2 separate regions of the Homo sapiens genome follow, and region 1 is linked to region 2. Evidence: promoter capture Hi-C in 16 types of primary human blood cells and fetal thymus (Javierre and others, 2016). All regions are on one chromosome and are shown on one strand. Each heading gives the region's core, a stretch centred on a gene start or on the middle of the fragment in contact. The rest is flanking DNA. Distances are from core to core; before and after follow the strand shown.

Region 1 (3,577 bases), core at 883-3,382, 180 kb after region 2:
CACAGCACTCAGGAGCTCAGTGGCCTGAGGAAACAGCCGCCTGTCAATTCTATAAGTCAGTGATAGGCTTCCCGAAAAATTTTTGTGTGTGTGTTTTTTTTTAAAGGAGCAACGTATTTATAAACTTGTCCACGAACTATTATTGTAAATGGGTAAGAAATGTGTACATGTGTGAAGAGAAACAGGAAAAGAAAATGGAAAAATATATTTGGCATATGACCATGTAACATGACATCTAAGTAAAAGCACTAAAGAGAATTTATGTATTAAAATAGTCAAGGTCATTAAGCAAACAGCACAGTAATAGGTGTTGCAAGCAAAAATCATTAATGGAGGCTAAATTGGGTGGGCAGAAGTATGATGAGAAACATGATACTTGCAAAGTCTTAAAAGTGTCTCCCCACAAGATACTTATTACAAAGAGAAAAAGAGTTTTGCAGTGGAGGAGCCTAGTAGACAGTACCTTAAATGAGTGATCAAAGTAAGCATAACCAGTAATGTCACCATATCGCCTACCCCCAACATGCTGCACTGAGAAGGGCACAGCATCGCTTCTGTGGTCTTGTCAAAAAAGCCAACCTCAGGTCAGGCATGGTGGCTCATGCCTGTAATCCCAGCACTTTGAGAGGCTGAGGCGGGTGGATCATTTGAGGTCAGGAGTTTGAGACCAGCCTGGCCAACAGGGTGAAACCCCATCTCTACTAGAAATACAATAATTAGCCATGTGTGGTGACACATGTATGTAATCCCAGCCATTTGGGAGGCTGAGGTAGGAGAATCGCTTGAACCAAGGAGGCGGAGGTTACAGTGAGCCAAGATCGCACCACTGCACTCCAGCCTGGGTGACAGAGGCAGACCCTGTCTCAAACAAACAAAAAAAAAAGCCCACCTCAGTTTAATCAAGCAAACATATCAGAAAACTCAGATGGAAGGACACTCTAGGAAAGACAATGACAGGAACTGTGGCAGACTGGAGGACGAGACTAGAGGAGACAGGACAACTAAATGCAATGTGAGATCCTGGCTAGGATCCAGGATCAGGAAAAAACAACATGCATGGAAAAGCTGCTGAATTTTGAATAAGGTCTATAGTTTTGCTAATAGCACTGCATTAATGTTAATTTCCTAGTTTTGATATTGTACAATGATTTTGTAATATATTAACCCTAGGGGAAGCAGGGAGAAGGGTATGTAGGAGCTCTCAGTATTACCTTTGCAACTTTCTGAGAATTATTTCAAAATAAAAGTATTTACAGATTACTGAAGTTTAGTTATCTAAAAATAAATGTGAATAAAATATTTAATATTTTCTTCCCTCCTGCATTGAATCATTGGGTGTATGTGCATTGGAGATAAAAGGATGGGGTCAAGGATGGCTGGGGAAGATTACTAAGTCTCCTATGGATAGAAAGGTGAGCCAAGCCTTGAATGTGGACAGTCTAATTATGGAGCCTGACACATAAAGAAATGCATCACTTTAATAACTGAGGAGGGCTATTGGGCAAGTGATTACGGAATGGTAGAAACAATCCTGGATTTTGAGTCAAAGCCATGGATACAAACCCTCAAGTGTTGGCCCGAACACAATAAAGCTTTGAGATCTTGAGTCAGTCACTCAGTATCTATGGAAATGGACATAAACAAACTTTATTGCACACGACTATTGTGAGGATAAAGTGAACAGAGGTGTCTGAAAGCATTAGGTAAATGGGAGAGCCCTGCTATGACAAGGTTGTTAAAATTACCAAGATTAACAATAATATCCACGTAGCCAAAATAATACCGTAATTTCACTCCTAAGCTACAGCATCCTAGCATCTAATGGTACCCATCCCATATGGAAGCAAATCTGTCTTGCCTTCTGTCTGACCTTGGAGCCTGGGGCCACCAGTCTTCATGTGTGGTCAGTATTAAGCACCATCTGTCCTGAGTTAACACAACTCCTTCTAGTTTAAGCAATGAACACAGGCTGCAATGGCTAAAGCCTAAATAACTGCAATATGAAGAAAGGCTTTCCCACCCTGTTTGTCACTTTGGATGCATAGTGTTCACCTCCCAGGTGTTTACCCATCTAAATTGTGTGATGAAATGTCTTTTGAACACTTTTACAAGCAGTTAGATGCAATCAAGTTCTCTTCTTGCTTAAGACTCCTCAGCAAAGAAGATACTAAAAAAAAAAAAAAAAAAAAAAAACACAATAAGTGGCTGGGCTGCTTTGCAAATCTTTTCCTGCTGTACTTACTTCCTTGCAGTCATTCTACCTCTCCCCTCCCCTCCATAAAAAGCCCTAATGATTGTGACATTCATGATCTCTAGTGGGGTCGTTTTTCTCACTGCTCATCCGTATGATAATATGAGATGAAAAGGAAGCTGTATGTTAGGGCCATCTGTTGTTTAAATCTCTTCAAGATCCATTCACTCTTCTGGTAATAGTACCTAGGTTTTCCTCTGGGTGTCCGCCTGCCTCTTGCTCCCAGTCTCTGTGGGTAGCTCCCACAGCAGTACAAATTGAGCCAGAATTGGCCGATCAGCATAGTCCATCCATCCTCCTATGGTTAGAAAGTTCAGGGATGGGTATGTGCCTCACCTCAGAGCAAGGAAATCTCATGAGGCATGCAGGAGTGTCTGGAAATGGAAATCTCTCTTTTCCTGGGGTACTATGTTAACAGAATGTAAGCTTATGGCTGCTGAGGGCCCTCCTGCAAGCACAAGAAGGGGGCCTATCCCAAGAGAAGGTAAGACCAGGGACAGCAGGAGAGAGAGGAGAGAGAACCTCATGGGTGGGGAGAACTCTACTGAAATCATCATACCACCTGTGTGCAGGCCTAAAGCCAGTGCTACACCCACCCCACCTCCCCAGTCACTGACTGCTCAGTTAAATGAGCTGATATTCTTTTTTGCATCAGTCACTTTAAGTTTGGTTTCTGTCCCTTGTGACCTAAAGTGATCTGACTGTGAAACCAGGAAAATAAACATTAAACACTACCTTCTGTGAAAACGGAAGGTGCTACCAGCATACATCTGTAGTTTTTGTGGGGTCAGGCCTGGCTGCCCAGGGTGACCCACATCATCTCACACCCCTCACCTTAGGGTCATAGGAGGTAAGTATCATTTGCAACTAGCAGGTTTAAGGAGCCATCTGAAACAAGGGAATAGAGATTTTCTGGGTTGAGCTAGCTCATACCATATTCAGCCCCCCAAAACCCTGTCTAGCCTCACTTATCTTTTACTTCCCAAGTCTCTGACATTCCAGTCACCCAGGATGTCTTTCTTTTCCCTAATTCACAGTGCACTGCTTCATGCTGTCATGCTAATGCACTGGCTCTCAACTCCAAGTTCCAAGCCTAAGACCTCCAGTGGGAGGTTTCCCAGGACTTCTCCAGATGGAGTTGGTGGCCATTACTATGAAATCCCATAGCATCTTGTAAGGTCATACTGCAGCATTAGGTACAGGTGACCATGTGATGAGACAAATATTGATACACAAATGTTCCCACCCTTCCTCACCCTATGGATGCAAGTCCTGGATTTGCCCTGCTAGTGTCTTCATCTCCACCTTATACCCTCCCTGTATTCT
Region 2 (3,927 bases), core at 1,322-3,821:
GCACTGCAGCTTTTTTCCCTGGTTGCCTCTCTAAGGCTATGATTCTTGCAATAACTTACATAATGATGGAAGAGAAAGGAGACTATAATACAAGCCCAAATGTTAGGGCCTACATGTTAGATATTGTCCTTGGGAACATACAGAGATTAAGTGTTCACAATTTTGATCATCAACCCTGAGGAAATTATTACCTTCTCACCAAACACTGGATCCAGTGAGGATGGAGACACCACCTCTTTTTTCCTAACACCCTTTGGCAAGAGTCAGAAAGGTTTCTCAGGACCCCAGGATTGTAGGGAAGTTAATGTTTACAGACCCCCCCTAGATTGCTGCTAGAATTTTTGGTATCTTTCAGTAAGTTAGGAAAAGACAGCCTCCCAACTAAGAATTAGAAAAAGTCAGTCCCCAAGCTAGATTATCTGATAAAAGTAATGGCAAAAACAGCAATTACTTTTGTACCACTCTAATAATTGCCATAGCAATAACAACTACCACCACTGTTTACTGAGTGCCAACTACGTGTTAGGCACTGTCCTTGGGAGCTTAGAGATTATGAAATGAGCCAGTCTGTGGAACTCATTTTCTTGTGCCATCCATCTGGATGTTGATGAGTTTCTACCCCAAATCTCCTTTTCATTGTGCATGATTAATACTGAGCAGTTCTTTCTGACAAAAGCTTGGCAAAAGACTTAGCTACTCCCTGAGGCAATTGATGAAACCTTAGGAAGCCTCCACCATTGGCATGGGAGGAAGCTTGCCTTCCTGTTTGCTAAAGAGTAACTTCATTCATTCATTTATTCCATCACTTTATCGAGGTATCAACATATAATAAATCACATGCAAGTATACAATTTGGTAAGTTCCAACATATGTATGTACCCATGAAAGCATCAACATAATCAAGATAGCAAATGTACCTATCACCCCCAGAACTCTTGTCAATCCTTTTGTCGTTCCTCCCTCTCATTTCCCCATCCCCAAGTAACCATTGATCTGCTTTCTGTCACTACAGATTAGTTTGCATTTTCTAGAGTTTTATATAAATGAAATCACATAGTGTGTACTATTTTGCCTGGCTTCTTTCATTTGGAATAATGATTCTCAGACTCTGATTCACTTTGCATAGATCAACAGTTCATTCACTTTTATTGTGAAGTAGTAGTATACTATATAGATATAATACAATATGTTTATCCATGTACCTGTGGATAGACTTTTGAGTTATTTCCAATTTTTGACTATGGAAAAGAAAACTAAGAGCAGCCACTTTAAAAACCCCAAATGTTTAAAACATTGTTTCATTTAATTTTCACAACTATGCTGTAGTTAAGTACTGACATCCTTGTTTTTCAGAAGATGAGATGAAAGTTTGGGGAGGTGAATTAACTTGGCCAATGTTGGAAAGCAGCACAGCTAAAATTTGAACACAGAGCTAGTTATCATCGAAGCTTAGACTCTCAAACACTTATGAGCCCAGAAGGATAGTTACTCAAAAGACAGAAGTTATCGGAGGCCAGCACAAAGCCTGATGTCTGCATGGGTCTTCCATGAGACACTTTCTACATCTACCTTTGTATGGCTCCAGGCCACCTAAAGCAACATATAAAGACTGGTGTTGGAAAGCTCCAGTTTTTGATTGGACCTGGAAAACTGCCATATTGAAATCACACCTATACTAACAGCTTGCACATATGGGTACTTAATAAACAACTGTTGAACGAATAAATGGCTGAATGCACAAATAAATGCATAAAGGAAGGCACAGGCAGATAAATAGATTGAGGAAGGAAGTTAGTTACTTGCTGATTTGGTGGTGGATTAATCCAATCATCCCATGAAATTACTCAAAATATCTCCTGCGTCATAAGGCAGAGGAGATCATCTTGATACTACATTAACTCTCACACCAGGCTACAGTGTAGACTGCCCAGTCAGCAGAAAGGGTGTGCAGCTGTGAATTTATGCAGGAAGTCTAAGTAAGAGGCCAAGTCCCAAACTTTAGGACCCCAGAGTGAATTTACTGTAAAGGTTGGAGATACCTGTCTTGAAAGCTAGAACTCCAATGGCAGGTCTCTCATCCTGCATTTGCAAATGAGCCTTGGCCTTTCTAGGCCTCATAATCTGCACGCAAGCCTTGACAAGTCCCTGCTGGTGGAATCTGGCCGTGTTGCTGCTGACTTCATCTGGCAGAGGCCCTGAAGCCTGGGAACCCAGGTTCTAGTCCCAACTCTGACAGCTCCGTTGAAAACAAGTTTATTAACAGGCAGTTTTAGTGAAAGCTGCACACACAGGCATATTTCCCATTGCCATCTGATGACATCAGTGTATTTCTGGAGCCAAGATAAATACAGCATTGTTCATGTGACTAGCTTCCCAAGAAGAGTGAGGTGGACTGCTCTGAAGCCTCCTCCTGCCCTGCCCCCTTCTTCCCTCCCTTCCCAACTCATCTCTCAAACTGCATTGAAAACACCGAGGTGAGTGACAGTGAAGGCTAACTAGGAGATGCAGCTTAGGGGGAATTTAATCCAATTCAGTTGGAGAGACATGCATCTCCCTGTACCATGAAATTCCATTTTGATCTCAGCATGTGCTGATGGAGTAATGAAATAAAGACAACACTCTGCAAATGGCTGGTGAGTCTAATGATGGTTTTTATGGGGGTTTTAGAAGGGCTATTAGATTGTGCATTCCTTTCCTATAAGCCAAAACCACCCAGCAGACCTTGGGAGATGAACCATTTTATCATTCTTCTCTCCCTTCCCCCAGCATCTGCCAGCCTTTGTCCCTCCTGGTATAAATAGCTTCTCACATAAAAGAGCAAACTGTCAGTAGCCTGAAAGCTAACGGTAAAGCTGGACGCCTGGCACTGTGGCCCCAGCCGGGTGGTGGTGAGTCACAGCTGTATAATTCACGGTCCTGCAGTAAAAGGTATCAGCGCATGCTCTAGGTTAACAGGCCAGAAAGGGAGCTGAAGAAACAGGGCCAATGAAAGACTTTTAAAAGCATCTTGAGTTTTCCTTTAACAATCAGCCTTGTATTTGGGTGATATCCAGGGCATGCCAGTCAAAGGCAAAAAGACAGGAATGGGATTGGGTAGCTTCTGGGGCACACCCTTCATCCGTATCTGCACGCAAATCTGCTTCAGTGTCTTGGAGATTCAAATAATGATTCTGATGAGGACAGCAGCTACCATTTGCTGAGGACCTATTTGGTGTCTGCTTTGTCCTAGGATCCTTACAAAGATGAATTCACTTCTTCTCTGTTAGCTACTTTAGACTTGGGCAGAAGCATCCCCGTGTTACAGCTAAGAAAACTGATGCTTGAGATGCCCAAGGTTACAGAGTTAAGTGATGGAGTCTAGATGTGGCCTCATCTATTCCTAGCAATGTGGCTTTTCCATTAGCCAACAGTAATGGCTCTCAAGCTTTGTCATGCATGAGAAACACCTAAAAGCTTTGTTGAAACAGATTGTTGGGCTCCATCTTCAGAGTTCTGGTTTATTTGGTCTGGGGCAAGTCCCAAGAGTCTACATTTAACAAGTTCCCAGGTGATACTAGTGCTACTGGTATGGGAACCTCGTTTTGAAAACCACGGGACGAGGCAGACCAAATCTGGGTAATCAAGCCATCATTCCATGTAAAGTCCCAGCTCAAATGTCACTTCTGCAGAGAGGCTTCTCTTAGCCATCCAATATAAAGTAGATAGATTCTCTAAATCAGGGGTCTGTGTTTCAAATCAGGCCCCCTTCCTGTTTTTGTAAGTAAAGTTTTATTGTCACATGACCATGCCCATTTGTTCACCTATTGTCCAATGCCTGCTTTCACATTACAACATCAGAGTTGGGTATTTGCCACTGAGACTGTACAATCCATGAAGCCTATATTTACTATCTAGATCTTTACAGACAAAGCCTGTCAACTCCTTGCT

What was found. The method cuts DNA at HindIII sites, captures the fragments that hold promoters and counts their contacts. A CHiCAGO score of 5 or more calls a contact.
Region 1: a fragment that was not itself captured here is called in contact with the fragment with the promoter of PRICKLE2-AS3 in region 2 in 1 of 17 cell types (megakaryocytes); the score reaches 6.2 in megakaryocytes.

What each region holds. Positions count from the first base shown.
Region 1 is chr3:64,360,643-64,364,219 of GRCh38, forward strand. No RefSeq gene overlaps it. Among named protein-coding and RNA genes, the nearest start is that of PRICKLE2-DT, 83 kb to the right of the region's middle. The HindIII fragment of the contact is 1,085 bases long and covers 1,591-2,675 here.
Region 2 is chr3:64,184,973-64,188,899 of GRCh38, forward strand. PRICKLE2-AS3 (PRICKLE2 antisense RNA 3) reads left to right here and starts at 2,572. Exons shown (of 4, transcript NR_046702.1): 1 at 2,572-2,633. The region is part of intron 2 of PRICKLE2 (prickle planar cell polarity protein 2); the gene reads right to left. The HindIII fragment of the contact is 1,976 bases long and covers 1,447-3,422 here.